Regions from separate parts of the Homo sapiens genome. Here region 2 is linked to region 1. The links are contacts of gene promoters, found by promoter capture Hi-C in human tissues and cell types (Jung and others, 2019). All regions are on one chromosome and are shown on one strand. The core of a region is centred on a gene start or on the middle of the fragment in contact, and the rest is flanking DNA. Distances in the headings are between cores, read along the strand shown.

Region 1 (3,533 bases), core at 506-3,005:
AGTAGCCATACCATTTTGCATTACAAAGAATGAGAGTTCCTGTTGCTCCACATCCTTGCCAGCATTTGGTATGGTCAGTGTTCTGGATTTAGCCATTCTAATAGGCATGTAGTGATATCTTATTGTGCTAATTTGCATTGCTCTGATCTATGCTCATCTATTTTTTATATCTGCACTGGTGATGTGTCTGTTAAAGACTTTGGCCCATTTTATAATCAAGTTATTACTTACTGTTAATTTTAAGAGTTCTTTGTGCAGTTTGGATAATAGTCCTTATTGAATATGTCTTTTACCAATATTTTCTTCCAGTCTGTGGCTTGAATTCTCACTCTCTTGGTAGTGTGTTTTGCAGAGCAGAAGTTTTATTAATAATTTTAATGAAGTCCATGTTATCAATTATATCTTTCATGGTTCCTGACTTTGGCATTGTATCTAAAATGTCATTGTCATACCTAAGGTTATCAAGGCTTTCTCCTATGTTATCTTCTAGGAGCTTTACAGTTTTGCATTTTACATTTAGAGTTATGATCCATTCTAAGTTAATTTTTGTGGTGAATATAAGACCCGTATCTAAATTTGTTTTTCTACATGTAGATACCTAGTTATTCCAGCACCAATTGTTGAAAACGCTGACTTTGTATTGCCTTTGCTTCCTTGACAAAGATCAGTTGATTATATTTATGTAGATCAAATTCTGGGCTCTCTGTTTTGTTCCTTGATCTATTTGTCTATTCTTTCACCAATACCACCGTGTCTTTGTTACTGTAGTTTCATAGTAAGTCTTAAAGTAGGATGCTTGCAGTCCTCTGACTTTGTTCTCCTTCAATATTGTGTTAGCTATTCTGGGTCTTTTGCCTCGCCATAAAAACTTTAGAATCAGTTTGTTGATATCCACAAAGTACTTTGCTGGGATTTTTTTATGGTGGAAAACTCATAGAACTTTATACTGTGGAATTTTTATTAGGGAAAGCTCATAGAATTTTATACTGTGGAGTAAACCTTAATGTTTGAAATTAAAGAAAATGATTTATGAGATTGAAAGATCTTAGAATGGAATGTACAATGTGGCAAAAGGATCTAACTATATTACAAATGTGTGAAATCACCTCCCTGAAGTGGATGGGAAGAAAAAAGGCTGACATCAGGAACTCTGCAAGTGAGTGGAGTCTATGAGACTAAAGGCAAAGAAACTTGTGAGAACTGTATGTCAGTATTGTACTTGAGTTGATAAGGCTGCTTCCCATGGTGGCATGACTAACAATTCTGAAACCACTATGCCTGTGCTTTAGTCAGTGTTCTCCAGAGTAATGGAAACTATAGGGTATATATATATATATATATACACACACACATATATATATACACACACACATATATATACACACACACACATATATACACACTCATATATATATACACACACACACAAATATATATATATATCTGTACCTATCTATCTATCTGCATCTATCAATCTACTTACCTATGTATTTAGAGAGAGAGAGAGATTATAAAGAATTGGTTGATGTGGTTTAGGTGGCTGACAAGTCCCAAGATCTGCAGTGGACCAGCAGGAGACCCAAGAAAGCAAATGTTCTAGTTTGAGTCTAAAGGCAGAAAAAACCCAGCTCAAATGCTATTAGGCAAAAGGAATTCTCTCTTACTAACCTGTTTGTTCTATTCTTCCCTTTAACTAATTTAATGAGGCCCACTCACATAAGTAAGGCAATTTGCTTTACTCAGTATATATACTCAAATATTAATCTCATCCAGAAACATACTCACAGACACACCCTCACCCTGAAAAATGTTTTACCAGATATCTGGGAACTCCCACAAAAATATTCCACCATAATTTAAATTTTTTTTTCTATTCTGCAAGATGTGTTTTTAAAAAATTCAATAGTTTTGGGGGAACAGGTGGTGTTTGGTTGCATGGAAATGTTCTTTAGTGGTGATTTCTGAGACTCTGGTGCACTCATCACCCAAGCAGTGTACAATGTACCCAGTGTGTAGTCTTTTATCCCTCACCCCACTTCTACCCTTCTCCCCAAGTCCCCAGACTTCATTATATCATTTGTATGCCTTTGAGTCCTCATAGCTTAGCTCCCGCTTACAAGTGAGAACACGCAATGTCTGGTTTTCCATTCCTGAGTTACTTCACTTAGGATAATGGTCTCCAACTTTAGCCAGGCTGCTATGAATGCCATTATTTGATTTCTTTTTATGACTGGTGGAGGTGGCAGGGGTGTGAAGTAGACTCTGTGAGAGTCTTTCGTTGTTGATATGTTTAGTGTGCTGGTTTTCTCAAATTCTGGTTATGCTAGCAGTGAAGTTGTCACATCGACAGACCAGAATGTTGCAGGCAGTGGAATGAGCCGTTTTTTTCTCCTTCTTTGGAGCAGGGTTGTTCTGTCCTGAGTTGCTGTACTGTCCTGAGTTGGTTGGCCTCCAGCCAGGAGGTGGCACTTTTGAGAGAGCACCAGCTGCGATAGTAGAAGGGGAATATAAGCTTGCCCTAAGTTGGCCAGGATAAGTATTCAGGTTTCTCAGGTGATGGCTGGGGTCATAAAGCTCTCAACGGTTTATGTCTTTTGTGACTGGAGTTCTTCATCTGTCTTGTGGAATTTGCAATGGCCTTCTTCTCTTTTCAAAAAATCTGTGATTTCTTTCTGTTTTCATGGTATGCTTCTGCAGTGGTTCCTGGAGCAAAAGTTCACAGTGTGAGTCTCCATATGATGTTCTGTTCTTCAAAGTGGGAGCTGCAAGTCAGCCCTGTCTCCAATCCATCTTCCCTCTAATTTTAATTCTATTCCACAACATATGTTCTGATGATTAATTTTATGTGGCAACTTCCATGGATGTTATGTGTTCCATTCATGTTATATGGTCCCATCACAATACATACTGAGGAACAAAACAATTAAGTAAATGGATAGCAGATAGTCGCAGCCAGGGTTTTTGCTGTTGTTATGTGAGGTTGTAGATAAGCAAGAGAAGATGCTAGAATGATCCATGTGGTAATGAATTCAAGTTGGAGACTTGAATAGATAGATACAAATTGTTACATATAATAATACATATAAATGTATTTATTGTCACCTAACAGGGCCCAGAAGCAGTGACACACCAGCAGCAGTGAGCACATCTTGTACCTAGATCTTGGTTGCTAATGCTATTACCCACTCTTACCCACTGTTACCATGATGGTTAATTTTATGTGTCAACTTAACTGGGCTACAGGTGCCCATATATTTGGTGAACACTATTCTAAGTATTTCTGTGAGGATGTTTTGGATGAGATTAAGATTTGAATCCATAGACTGAGTAAAGCAGATTGCCCTCCCTATTGTGGGTAGGTCTTATTCAATCAGCTGAAGGCCTGAATAGAACAAAAGCCTGACTGACCCTCCCTCTGGTAGGAGAGAACTCTCCTGCCTTATGGCCTTCAAACTGGGACATTAGCTCCCTCTGGTTCTACAGCAGCTTCCAGCCTTCAAAGTCAAACTGACACATCAGCTTTGCAGATTTTG
Region 2 (3,533 bases), core at 695-3,194, 110 kb before region 1:
GTTGTTGGGAATATAAGCCTGGCTTCTGGAGATCCCCAAAAACCCTAATCAAGATGAGCCATTCCTCAGTGCACCTCTGATTCGTGGTTCATAATGCTTTTCTGTCATTCCAGAGCTTTGGCTCTACTTTAAGTTCTTTGTGTAGATTCCTCTCATTGGTCTGCAGGCTTCTTGGTGGCTGGGGCCCTAGGACAGTCACCCCCAGGTTAAGGAACTCACGCCATTTTTTGTCTTGCACACTCCAGCACAGGAGGGCGGCAAACCCAGCATCTGGCGGCACCCCTGCTGCTGCCCTTGCAACCTGACTTAGAAAACCACAAGCAACCCCTTCGATTACATGCTCCTGTGCTGTAGGGCTAGGCCCTGCCGGGAAAGCCCCCCGAGACAGGGTCCCTGGGGAAGGACCTTCCACCGTTACCTCAGGGGCTGAGAGGAAAACACCCTGTGAAGGGGAAATTCTTCCGGGGCAGCTTCCAGGCCTAAGCTCCACGCTCCCTGCCCAGGTCAGCTTCTCCTTTTCCCTCCCCAGCAGTGGGAGCAGTTGTCTTCTGCCCTCGGCTGGATCCAAACAAGCCAAGTGTTCTCAGTTTAGTTATAGGAAGTGGTCAGAGTCTTGCATGAGGGCAGCTGCCAGATACCTAGCTTTGAAATAATTTTTTTTGTTTTTTGGAGACAGAGTCTTGCTCTGTTGCCCAGGCTGGAGTGCAGTGGCACAATCTAGGCTCACTGCAACCTCTGCCTCCCAGGTTCAAGTGATTCTTCTACTTCAGTCTTTTGAGTAGCTGCGACTACAGGCATGCACCACTGCGCTCGGCTGATTTTTGTATTTTTAGTAGAGGCGGGGTTTCACCATGTTAGCCAGGCTGGACTCAAACTCCTGACCTCAGGCAATCTGCCCTCCTTGGCCTCCCAAAGTGCTGGGATTACAGGTGTGAGCCACCATGCCCAGCCCTGAAATAATTTTTTAACATTGCACTGTACCCACACTACCTGAGCTATAAAGCAGTGATACTTCCTGTTTGAAAATTGAGTGCTCCCTGAAGTTGCCAGGAAACTGGCAGAACAGCCCACCCTGAACCTGGGAGTGAAACTCAGGGGGTCCTGTTCCTTGGTGACTTCAGCCATAGGGTGTTTCCCCAGGGAGTGCAGGGGCTAATATCCCAGCTCCTGCCTGACTTCCTAGAGTAGGACAAATAATCTTATCCAGGAGAGAAAATCCAACTGGAGGAAATGCAGCTGACTGGAAAGGTTCTCATGGTTGTAAGGCAATGTCAAGGTCACCACCACCCAGGCCCTGCCCAACACAGAAGGCCCTAGACAATATCCCTGCTAGGGGGGCATGCAGATGCTGCAGAGTCATTCCTCTTCCTTCCTGGGGTCCACTTCACTGCTAGACAGCTGTGGTCCTTAGCATGGCCCAAGGACGGACCCTGGAGCTTCTTACCCAGATCCAGATCTTTGAGGACATCTTTCCAAGAAGAATCATCTTTCCATGTCTTCTTTTCCCTGAGGTAAAAATTCCAGCTTCCACACAAGACCCTATAATAGAGAGATGGTTTCTTTTGGGAAGAAACCTGGGGTTTTTCAGGTGAGTCTACTCTGGGGAAAGCCAGGCATTTCCCCTGCTCCTTGCTGATGGTTAAGCAAGAAGGAGGTAGCACTGGAAAAATAAAGCTAGGAGATCTCTTCAGGGGATAACTCTTCAGGTCCTTAATTAGGGAGCACAGATAAACTCCAAATTAGACCACTCCACTCTGCAAGGGCAGCATATTCCACTTGCTATCAGAAGAGCTTTGTTGCTGCAAAGGGCTTGGAGATCTCTGTTCTACAAATTGCCCATGGCCCCTGGCCCATCAGCAGGGGAAAGGAGATAGTGGAGAGACGCCCTTTTCCGGTGTCCTGGGCTCAACAGGGATAAAAGGAGGCAGCACTCTGGGTGCCCCATCAGTGTGTTCTCTACCCCTTGGAGACTGCTTTTCTCCAGCTCTGTCAACTCAACCTTTCCCACCATGAGTCGGCAACTGAACATCAAGTCCAGTGGTGACAAGGGCAACTTCAGTGTGCATTCGGCAGTGGTGCCAAGGAAGGCTGTGGGTAGCCTGGCTTCTTACTGTGCAGCTGGCAGAGGGGCTGGCGCTGGCTTTGGCAGTCGGAGCCTCTATAGCCTTGGAGGGAATCGGCGTATTTCTTTCAATGTGGCTGGTGGCGGCGTTCGGGCTGGAGGTTACGGCTTCAGGCCTGGCTCTGGGTATGGAGGGGGCCGGGCCAGTGGCTTTGCTGGCAGTATGTTTGGCAGTGTGGCCCTGGGGCCTGCATGTTTGTCTGTGTGCCCACCTGGGGGCATCCACCAGGTCACTGTCAACAAGAGCCTCTTGGCCCCCCTCAACGTGGAGCTGGACCCTGAGATCCAGAAGGTGCGCGCCCAGGAGCGGGAACAGATCAAGGTGCTGAACGACAAGTTCGCCTCCTTCATTGACAAGGTGGGTCTCATAGGAGGAGGATGAGGCCGCACCCTGAGGCCTGAGCAGTTTTCCTGCTGCCTGGGAATGGACTGCACACTGTGGCTGGAAAGGTGCAGCTGGGCCTCAGGAAGGGCTTCCTCACCATTAGGGAAGGAGAGTAGGTCTGTGAGCCACGGAGGACAAAGGAATACATGAATATATCGGCTTCTTTGGCGATTTTGCAGGGAAGGATGGGAAGCTGGGTAAAGAGCAGCCCTTCCTTGACAAAAAAGTGATGAGTTTCTTGAGGACAGCTGGATCTTCCAAGAACATGAAAGGCTAATAGAATCCAGCAGTGTTCAGAGGGAAGGGCTCATGGTACAGGAAGAGACACTTAGTTGAGACATAAGGAAGGACATCTCCTGGGACCAGGGCCGAGCAATAGAAGAAAGCTGTGGAAACTCCTTGAGTGAGTTCTCAGTGATGCCTTGTCCAGAAGGCTAGGAAATGAGCACTTGTAAAGGATCTAGTTTGTGTGGAATGGCAAGGGTGGAGAGTCAAGACATGAGCAAAAATGACTACAACAATCTATGGCAAACCTGGGGAGTCAATGGTGTGTGTCCAGGGGGCATGACTGCACCCATTGTGGTTCCAGGTGTCTGTTGATTTGGGTTCCAGGTACGCTTCCTAGAGCAGCAGAACCAGGTTCTAGAAACCAAGTGGGAGCTGCTGCAGCAGCTGGACCTGAACAACTGCAAGAAGAACCTGGAGCCCATCCTTGAGGGCTACATCAGCAACCTGCGGAAGCAGCTGGAGACACTGTCTGGGGACAGGGTGAGGCTGGACTCGGAGCTGAGAAGCATGAGGGATCTGGTGGAGGACTATAAGAAGAGGTGAGCAGGCTCCACCCGAGGGTCACAGACCATGTTTCCCGTGCCTCTGGGCTCACCTGATCTCTGTGCCATTATTTTTTAGGAGATGGGGGAGTATGCACCAGGGTCAGGAGCTCACATCCCTTTCTCTGGCTAGGGGGAAGGGCCTATCCTCTTTGATGATAACTTCCTGCCTAGTTGATAGGAAGCGGTTCCTGTG

Evidence for each region. The method cuts DNA at HindIII sites, captures the fragments that hold promoters and counts their contacts. A contact is called where the count stands out against the background at its distance.
Region 2: the fragment with the promoter of KRT74 here is called in contact with a fragment that was not itself captured in region 1 in 2 of the 25 tissues and cell types used here (H1 embryonic stem cells and small bowel).

The regions. Positions count from the first base shown.
Region 1 is chr12:52,460,809-52,464,341 of GRCh38, reverse strand. No RefSeq gene overlaps it. Among named protein-coding and RNA genes, the nearest start is that of KRT6B, 10 kb to the right of the region's middle. The HindIII fragment of the contact is 6,054 bases long and covers 1-3,533 here.
Region 2 is chr12:52,572,254-52,575,786 of GRCh38, reverse strand. KRT74 (keratin 74) reads left to right here and starts at 1,944. Exons shown (of 9, transcript NM_175053.4): 1 at 1,944-2,480; 2 at 3,120-3,334. The coding sequence starts at 2,010. RefSeq lists an enhancer at 3,350-3,519. The HindIII fragment of the contact is 9,071 bases long and covers 1-3,533 here.